Regions from separate parts of the Homo sapiens genome. Here regions 1 and 3 are each linked to region 2. The links are contacts of gene promoters, found by promoter capture Hi-C in blood cells and fetal thymus (Javierre and others, 2016). All regions are on one chromosome and are shown on one strand. Each heading gives the region's core, a stretch centred on a gene start or on the middle of the fragment in contact. The rest is flanking DNA. Distances are from core to core; before and after follow the strand shown.

Region 1 (2,874 bases), core at 350-2,849, 560 kb after region 2:
ACCTACTCTACATCTGGCTCATGCTAAAAGCTAGAGATACAGTGGGAAGAGGCACAGTCTCTCACAATGTAGTTGTGCTGTGAATCGCATGTGTCTGAGGGTGGAAGTCAGGTCAGGCTGTATCGAGGTGCTTAGCACAGTGCTTGTTGCATTGTAGGTATGCAATGAATAGTAGTGGGGAGATTATAGGATTTTGCAAGCCTGCCTCTAAGCTGTGAGTGCAGGCCCTAGAATGTTATCCTCACCTCTTCCTAGGCTCCATTAGGTCTGGGAAGCCCTAGGGCAGCCTCTGTTACCCAGATTGTGCCTAGCCCTGGCCCTTCTAGATTGAGTCTTGTTTCCCCTACACTAGAGCTGGTAGTACAGGTTCAGCCCAGCAATCGGTGCTCAGTGAAATGTATGTGGTTTATAGTTGGGTTGGGCAGGGAGTGGGTGGCAGGAAGCTCACAGGAAGCCCACCGGGGGCTGAGGCCAGGATGGGGACTGGCCCAAGCAGGGGCCGTGGAAAAGGTGGACCTGTGTGAGGTGGCAGTGGCAGCACCTGGGCCATCAGTGACATGTGGCCCCATGCTGCCCCCAACAGTGGAGAAGATCCGAGCCACCTTCACTGTCCTCCGGGCCTTCGGCTCTGTGTCCATGGCCCACAGCCGCAGTGCCACCCGGTTCTCCATGGTGATGTCGCTGGACTTCAACGCTACAGGCCGCATCACAGCTGCTCAGCTCCAGGTGAGGCCTCTCGGGGGATGTGCAAGGGGGCCCTTGGGGCTGCTGTGTCTCTAACCCCGGGACTCAGCAGAGCCCACGCCTCCAGCTGGGACTCTAGGATGTGTCTGAAATGGTCATGGCGGTGGCTCAGGCCTGTAATCCCAGCACTTTGGGAGGCTGAGGTGGGTGGATCACCTGAGGTCTGGGGTTTGAGACCAGCCTGACCAACATGGTAAAACCCCGTCTCTACTAAGATGCAAAAATTAGCCAAGTGTGGTGGCAGGTGCCTGTAATCTCAGCTACTCGGGAGGCTGAGGCAGGAGAATCCCTTGAACCCAGGAGGCGGAGGTTGTAGTGAGCCGAGATTGTGCCACTGCACTCCAGCCTGGGCAGCAAGAGCGAAACTCCATCTCAAAAAAAAAAAAAAAAAAAAAAAAAAAAAAAAAAAAGAAAGAAAGAAAATAGTAATAATAATAATAAAATAATGAAATGGTCATGGATCCCCTAGCTGGGGCCAGTTGCTCCCCACCTCGCTAGGTGCCCTGGAACGTCCCCTTCTGGAGCAAGCCAGCCCGTCTGTGCTTCAGACTTTCAGGCGGATGAAATATTCATGAGCAAATAGAGAATTCAGGCTGTCATTAGCCGGGTCTTAAAAGCGCAAGTTGAAATTAAACAGACGCTTGCCAGCCTTCTGCAGCAGTCCGCGTGTGACGAACACATGGCCTGTTTGTTCCTATCTCCAAAATCACCCATACTCCTCCCCGTCTCCCTCAAACATCCTGTTTGAACAGAAAATAGGATTAGGTTATTAGAAGGGTTGTTTGTAACATGGAGCTGGTATAATATCCAGACTCAAGGAAAACCCCTTCATGCCAAATAAGTCCCTTTTCTGTCCTGGCCCTGAAATCCTACCCTTAATCACTATTTGGGTTAAGGTATTAAAGGCTTCTATTAAAAAGGGAATATGTTGGAAGGTGGCCTCATTTGATTGTTATTACCTTTGATACCTTAATTGAAATGAATCTATTGCATTAGTTAATTTCCTAGGTGGACTCTGAATTAGTGAGACAAAGGATTGAGAAGTTCTGACGTGGAGGTTGCCAGCAAAATTAATTTGGACCTGAGATGTTGTCTCGAAGAGTGGATCAGAGGCTGGGCGTGGTGGCTCACGCCTGTAATCCCAGCACTTTGGGAGGCTGAGACGGGTGGATCATGAGGTCAGGAGATTGACACTATCCTGGCTAATGCGGTGAAACCCCGTCTCTACTAAAAAAACAAAAAAATTAGCCGGGCGTGGTGGTGGGCGCCTGTGGTCCCAGCTACTCGGGAGGCTGAGGCAGGAGAATAGCGTGAAGCTGGGAGGCGGAGCTTGCAGTGAGCCGAGATCACGCCACCGCACTCCAGCCTGGGCAACAGAGCGAGACTCCGTCTCAAAAAAAAAAAAAAAAGAGTGGATCAGAGTGGGGCACCCCAATGGGGCTTCTGGGTAGCTGCACTTCAGGCATGTGCAGATGTACCCAAAGCACTGACTGGGTGCCCCTCTTCTCTCCCTGCAGACAATGCTTTTGGAGAAGAGCCGCGTGGCACGGCAGCCGGAAGGGGAAAGTAACTTCCTGGTTTTCTCCCAGATGCTGGCTGGATTGGACTTGGATCTCAGGTGAGCACTTGGGGCAGGAAGAGACAGCTGAGGGCAGTGCGACAAAGGGCACATGTTCTTTGGGGGCCCAGCCTTAGCTTCTGCCCAGCACTGAGAGGCCGTGGGACCCAGGGATTAGGAACATGGCGTCCGATTCCAGCTGTCTGGGTACACGCAGCTCATGGGCTGGGTGACTTTGGTCACATGTCATCCACCCTGAGCCGCGGTTTCTTCCTTTGTAATGTGGAAACAACACCTTGCATAGACCTTATAGGATTAAGAGAGATAATTTACATTCAGCTCTTTATAGGTCACATGTCATCCACCCTGAGCCTCGGTTTCTTCCTTTGTAATGTGGAAACAACACCTTGCATAGACCTTATAGGATTAAGAGAGATAATTTACATTCAGCTCTTTATAAATGCTGGGAGTCAAGGCTGTCTGCTGTGATAGTGGCATGTCAGTACTGGCCCTGGCAGCGGTATGGGAAGAGGGAGAGGGACAGCAGACCCCCATGTCTTCCAGAAGTTTCT
Region 2 (3,006 bases), core at 468-2,967:
TCAAGACACAGCCTGGGCTGCAAGGAAGGTGTGTGCACTAAAGAAACATGAGTAAAGGCCGGGCGCGGTGGCTCACGCCTGTAATCCCAGCACTTTGGGAGGCCGAGACGGGCGGATAATGAGGTCAGGAGATCGAGACCATCCTGGCTAACACAGTGAAACACCGTCTCTACTAAAAATACAAAAAATTAGCCGGGCGTGTTGGCGGGCGCCTGTAGTCCCAGCTACTAGGGAGGCTGAAGGAGGAGAATGGTGTGAACACGGGAGGCAGAGCTTGCAGTGAGCTGAGATCGTGCCACTGCACTCCAGCCTGGGCGACAGAGCGAGACTCCATCTCAAAAAAAAAAAAAATAGAAAAGAAATGTGAGTAAAGGCTGGGCACCCATGTGGCAGCGATGGGGCCAGTGGTAGGGATCTAAGAGCAACTCACTCTAGGACAGTGGTTAAGAAACAGGCCGGGTGCAGTGGCTCATGCCTGGAATCCCAGCACTTTAGGAGGCCAAGGTGGATGGATTGCCTGAGCTCAGGAGTTTGAGACCACCCTGGGCAACATGTCAAAACCCTGTCTCTAACAAGATACAGCAAAAAAAAGAATTTAGCTGGACCTGGTGGCGCACACCTGTAGTCCCAGCTACTGGTGAGGCTGAGGCAGGAGAATCGCTTGAACCTGGGAGGCAGAGGTTGCAGTGAGCCGAGATCACACCACTGCACTCCAGCCTGGGTGACAGAGTGAGATTCCATCTCAAAAGAAAGAAAGAGAAAGAAAGAAAGAGAGAGAGAGAGGGGGAGAGAGAGAGAGAGAGAGAGAGAGAGGGGAGAGAGAGAGAGAGAGAGAGAGAGAGAGAGAGAGAGAGAGAGAAGAAAGAAAGAAAGAAAGAAAGAAAGAAAGAAAGAAAGAAAGAAAGAAAGAAAGAAAGAGAAAGAAAGAAAGAAAGAAAAGAAAGAGAAACAGCCAGGGGCCTTGAGAATAAAATGCACTCTCCATAATTGGCCTCCCTGGCCCTGCAACATCAGGCCCTGCCCACCTTGGCCACCTGGCACAGGCCCTATTTGTCACATGTCATGCTTTAGCTTTGTTAACCTGTTTTCAGGTCTTCTTGAAATACACCATGCTGGTTCCTTGTATATGGACCCTTTCTGCTTGGAACTGTCCCCCCACCCTGTTCCCAGGCTTCCTCTTCTCCATCCCTGAGGGATGCGCTACCTCCCAGGAGCTTTTCTGAATGGCCTGGGCTGGCGTAGGTCCTCTTCCTGACACTCCCCTGGAACAGAGATTGTCACCAAGTGGATGCCCAACAAATATTTGTTGAATGAATAAATGGGTAGATGAATGAAGCCCAGACTCTGCCAAACCACCCTTCTTTACTTGTTCTTCCCCAGGCCCACTGAGATGTTCCTCTGTCTGCCATGCCTCACGGCCTGACTGACCGTACCAGTGAACCCAGCGTACCCCTGGCCCTGGCAGCCGGACGGCTGATGCATGCAAAGCGGGCATCTCCTTGCCCAGCCGCCTGACCGCCCTGGCGCGGCCGAATCTGAAAGCTAATGACATTATTGTGCAGAGACACAATGTCTGTGGGCATTTGCTGACCCGAGCTTTGGTGAGAGCTTAATCCAGCATTCTCACCCTGCTTTTCGCAGGAGCACAGCGGTCACTCATCTTGGCACCGGCACTTCTGGGGAAGGTATAAATGCCACCTCCCGCTGGCCGAGCTTCACGGCACTCGCAGGGGCTGGTGTCACTGGTAAGATTGCCTCTCTTGCTTGTCTTCCCTTCTTTCTCTCATCCTCACCCCTGTCCGCAAGCATGGGAGCACCCAGATTCTGACAAGTGACTTTGGGCAGAGACTTCAATGCTGTTAGCCTCAGTTTTCTTTTCTGGTAACTGGGAAGGGGGTTAAAAAGCCTTCTTTATTGTAAGGATTCAAGAGAAGTTAGGGGATCATCCAGCACAGTGCCTGGCACACAGTGGGCATTGGGGCAATGTTCTTTATTATTAATATTAAACAGACTATCAGCATCCTTGTTTCGCCAGTCGCTGAGGAGGAGAATGTAACTGAGGGTTTTGCAAGAATCAAACCAGTGACAGTTCAGCATTGTTTCTAGGTGGGTGAGTCAGTTTTCCTCCACATCTGCAATTAGGGGGCACCCACTCTGTGCCTAGCCTCTGGGAGTGCTAGGGGATAGGATGCAGCCACAGGTATGTGACAGGTCCCAGCAACAGGTGATTTCAATGCCACTAAAGCATGGTAGAAATGACTCTAATAATGCCACAATTGCTGCCATTTGCTGCATGCTGAGTGTGTTCTGGGACCACGGCCAAGTGCTTCCGGTTTTATACATTACATAATTGAATCCTCACAACCTGTTCACAGGTATTATTAGACATCATTACTGTCCCCATTTTATAGAACAGGAAGTTGAGGCATAGGGAGAGGATGAGACCTGCCCAGAGTCTCAATTCTGGCAGGCAGCAGAGACTGCTCCTGAACTGGACCAACTGAGCTTCTTCAGTCTGTGAACACTCAGGACTGGGAAGTGATATGGCAGGACCTCAGGCACTCTGACAAGCCCAGAGGGCTGGTTTCTTGCGGGAGAGCAGTAGATTTGGCTGCCAAGGTGCTTAACTGCATTTCTTCCTCCTGGGAAACATCCAGTATTGGCCTTTCATGTGGAAGGGGCTTCTGGAAGCTGGCGTTATCTCTGAAGAGGGAGGCCAGGCTTCCTCTCTTACCCCTGGGGAAACACAGCCTGGTTTGACCACCCCTTCTGCAGGAAGGGGGAAGAGGCTGACAATTTTCCAGGCTTTTCTGATGTTCTCACTAGCTAAGGCAGGTCTACCCTGCTGCCTGCCACAGTGCCTGGATTTCTACCGTCGCACCCATTTCTTCTCTTTCTTGTAATGTGGGTTCTGTATCAGATGATTTCACTAATGGGGGAGTAAAACCAGTGGCAGAGAAGAGAAATCTAGGTACCAGGATGGGGAGAGGAGTCCCAGGGAGAGGG
Region 3 (3,221 bases), core at 236-2,735, 670 kb after region 2:
GGACAGCTGAATAAATTTTGAGCCTGCCTAAGCTGACAGTACCGAGAGAGGCTAGCTCGGGAAGGGCAGCTACGTTGCTCATTGTAAGAACCATTTACCTTCTCAGTAAAGATAATGCAGAGTCGCCTCTAAATATCAGTCATGATGCAGAGGGTCCGATGAAAGAGTGAGGCATTCTAACATCTTCACATGCAAAATTTACAGCAGGAGGACATGTGACCGCACCCAATTCAATGCATTTTACAGCTCAGGTGACCAAGGCTCCAGAGCAGGAGGGAATGTCCAAGGTGTTAGTTGTTGAGTCTGGACTCGAACCTTGCACCCTACCTCTTTCTTTTTTTTTTTTTACAATTCTGCTGCCTTCCATAAGAGGTAGCCTCAGTTTTATGAGCTGCCCTTCTCCTACATAGGGTTGTTTCTCTGCCTCTTAGCCATAAACACTCCACTAATATATTTCTCCCGTTACGTACTCTGCCATATCCTCAAACCCTGAACGCTTCATTTTGGAACGATAATGCCACAGAAGCCCTGCTCATTTGGCATCGGTGGCTGGTCAGTTAATCAGAAAAAAAAACCAGTGCAGGTGGGAATTCATTTAAAAATTCCTATTTTAAAATTAATTACATGTGTAATTTAAATCACTGCATTTCTGAGGCAGGACCCATCCATTTCTTTCTTTCTTAAACCACGCTCCTAATATACAACCGTATGATTTCCAATTTTGGCTTCTTTAAAACAGAGCAAATGGCAAAGTAATTTGAATACAAAAACCTAATTTTTTACTTCAAGTTTCTTTTTAGTTGTTGCAACAACACCTATTTGGCAGCATTTTAAAAAGCAGCTTACCTTTATTAATTCCTTCCAAGGCATTCAACCTAGTTTTCATGGAAACTCTGTCCAGCCATATTTTATAAGTTTATGTAGTAGCTAACTGAATAGATAGCTATGGTAAAAATGCAATAGGCAAAAACAGTTTGGGAGCACACACATGTGATACTGGATGTGCATGCCTGTCACCTGCTAGAGGCAGATAGGCCATGGGGCCATTGTAGAGAGGTGGTCTGGTGGAGAGCATTCTGGTGCAGTGGGCATCCATCAGTGTGTCTTACTGAGGGACAGTGTTGGTACATCCAGTGAGATGATTTGCTAAAAGCTGGTTACGAAGAGATTCCACTAAAATGGCCATTTTTAAAACTGAGCACTTACTACGTGCCAGGCACCGTGCTAAGCTTTCAATGGATTATCTCCTTGAATCCTCAAAAATAATGATGTATGTTGTTTTCCCCCCTTTAAAGCTGAGAAAACTGAGAACCAGCAAGGCATCCTGCTTGGTGTAAAATCACACAGCTAGTGAGTGTTGAACCACATCAAGACCAATAAAATTCTGAAGTCCATCCTCTTAACGAGTTGATTATACTCAAGGGTTGCTTTCCCATGATAGTGATTTGTCCAAAGGCGATCCTGTGCATGGGGAGAGAAGGGTTGGTGGCTCCATCGAGTGACCGTTCCTTGATCACCCCATTCCCCATCTCAGATTGCTGACTTGACCTCTGACCTTGCCGATGAGCGCTTCAAAGGTGATGTGGCCTGCCAGGTGCTGGAGAGTGAGCGGGCAGAGCGGCTACAGGCCTTCCGGGAGGTCCAGGAGCTCAAGGTGAGTGGTCAGGGGTGGCCAGGGGTGGCTGAACACGGTGGCTAAAAATGGTTGGGTCTGCTCCCCGACCCTCTCATTGGAGATCAGTAAGCTTAAGCAAGATGCACAGGTTGACTGACTGCTGGGCTCAAGGTCCTGGGGGACACTTAGGTCTCCTAAGGCTTGGCCTTGGGGGTGTTATGGGTGGATAGTCCCTGGCTAGAGAGGCGAATAGGAGAGGATTGTGCAGAAGGTGGACAGTCTTTGGCCTTGGAGGTGATTTGGGTGAGAAATATGCCGAAGGTGGCTAGCCCATGGTCCTGGATTCTGCATGGCTCAGGGCTGTGCAGAGGGTGGCCAATCCGAGCCTTGGAAGCACTTCATGGGTAAGATGACCAGCCCATGTCTTCTGTCCAGCTCTAGTTTAGACCTTGAGCCCTTTCTTCTAGAGCAAGCATGAACAAGTCCAGAAAAAACTGGGAGATGTGAATAAACAGTTGGAAGAAGCCCAGCAGAAAATTCAGTTGAATGACTTGGAAAGGAATCCCACTGGAGGAGGTGAGCAGCCTGGGACCCTTGGGGCTGGAAGGTGATGGACAAAGTTGTCTTTCCCATTTATTCAGTCACTCATAGAGCACTTTTTAGGTGCTAGATATTGCATGAGGGGCTGCGACTTTGGCAGAGCAAACAGGCACAGCGTACTCTCTTGGAGCTTACAGTCTAATGGAATAAGCAGATATTAATCAGATAATCCAACAATATCCCAGGTAACAAATTATCTGTATGATATGTGCTATTTAGTTTTAATGCAAAGAATGATTTTTAAATAGTGGCTTTATGGGCAAGGTACTTTTATGTTTATGTGAATATTTTAAAAATAAATTTTGAGAGGCCTGGCGTGGTGGCTCACACCTATAATCCTAGCACTTTGGGAAGCTGAAGTGGGAGGAGTGCTTGAGCTCAGGAGTTCAAGACCAGCCTGGGCAACATAGTGAGACCCCATTTCTACAAAAAATTTAAAAAATTAGCCTGGTGTGGTGGCATGCACCTGAAGTCCCAGCTACTTGGGAGGCTGAGGTAGGAGGATCACTTAAGCCTGGGAGACCTAGGCTGCATTTCAGCCTGGGCTACAGAGCAAGACCCTGTCTCAAAAAAATAAAAGCAAAAAGAAAACGTAAATTTTGAGGAAGGCTGTCTAGTGGTTAAAAGTTGGAACCTATGAAGTTGTATTTCTGGATTTGGATTTTGGGGCAAAGAAATTGCTGTGCCTCAGTTTCTTCCTCTTTCAAATGGAGATTGTCTTGGATAATTGATAGAAAATGTTTAGCCACATGTATAGAATAGAGTGATGAATAGCTAATAGCTACTTTACCATTATTATGAGGAATGATGAGATCACAGTTCATCCTTATAGCAACCTGTGGAACAGAAACTACTGCTCTCCCCATTCAAAGAGGGTAAAGCTGTGTCAGGCGCACAACAGTTACCAAATGGCGAGAAGGCGAGAGGACTCTTGGTTTTACCCAGGGATATTATACATTTGTTCAGTAGTGCCAGGAGTTTCTGGAGGTGTCCTTCTTATACAGTT

Evidence for each region. The method cuts DNA at HindIII sites, captures the fragments that hold promoters and counts their contacts. A CHiCAGO score of 5 or more calls a contact.
Region 1: a contact is called between a fragment that was not itself captured here and the fragment with the promoter of CRYBB2 in region 2, in 1 of 17 cell types (M0 macrophages). The highest score is 8.7, in M0 macrophages.
Region 3: a fragment that was not itself captured here is called in contact with the fragment with the promoter of CRYBB2 in region 2 in 1 of 17 cell types (M1 macrophages); the score reaches 5.4 in M1 macrophages.

The regions. Positions count from the first base shown.
Region 1 is chr22:25,779,473-25,782,346 of GRCh38, forward strand. It overlaps MYO18B (myosin XVIIIB), which reads left to right. Exons shown (of 44, transcript NM_032608.7): 9 at 584-726; 10 at 2,262-2,362. Among named protein-coding and RNA genes, the nearest start is that of MYO18B, 39 kb to the left of the region's middle. The HindIII fragment of the contact is 5,772 bases long and covers 1-2,874 here.
Region 2 is chr22:25,217,922-25,220,927 of GRCh38, forward strand. It overlaps CRYBB2 (crystallin beta B2), which reads left to right and starts at 1,718. Exons shown (of 6, transcript NM_000496.3): 1 at 1,718-1,745. The HindIII fragment of the contact is 9,715 bases long and covers 1-3,006 here.
Region 3 is chr22:25,889,222-25,892,442 of GRCh38, forward strand. MYO18B (myosin XVIIIB) reads left to right here. Exons shown (of 44, transcript NM_032608.7): 26 at 1,535-1,654; 27 at 2,083-2,191. MYO18B-AS1 (MYO18B antisense RNA 1) reads right to left here. Exons shown (of 3, transcript XR_938086.3): 2 at 3,006-3,221. Among named protein-coding and RNA genes, the nearest start is that of MYO18B-AS1, 9.1 kb to the right of the region's middle. The HindIII fragment of the contact is 516 bases long and covers 1,228-1,743 here.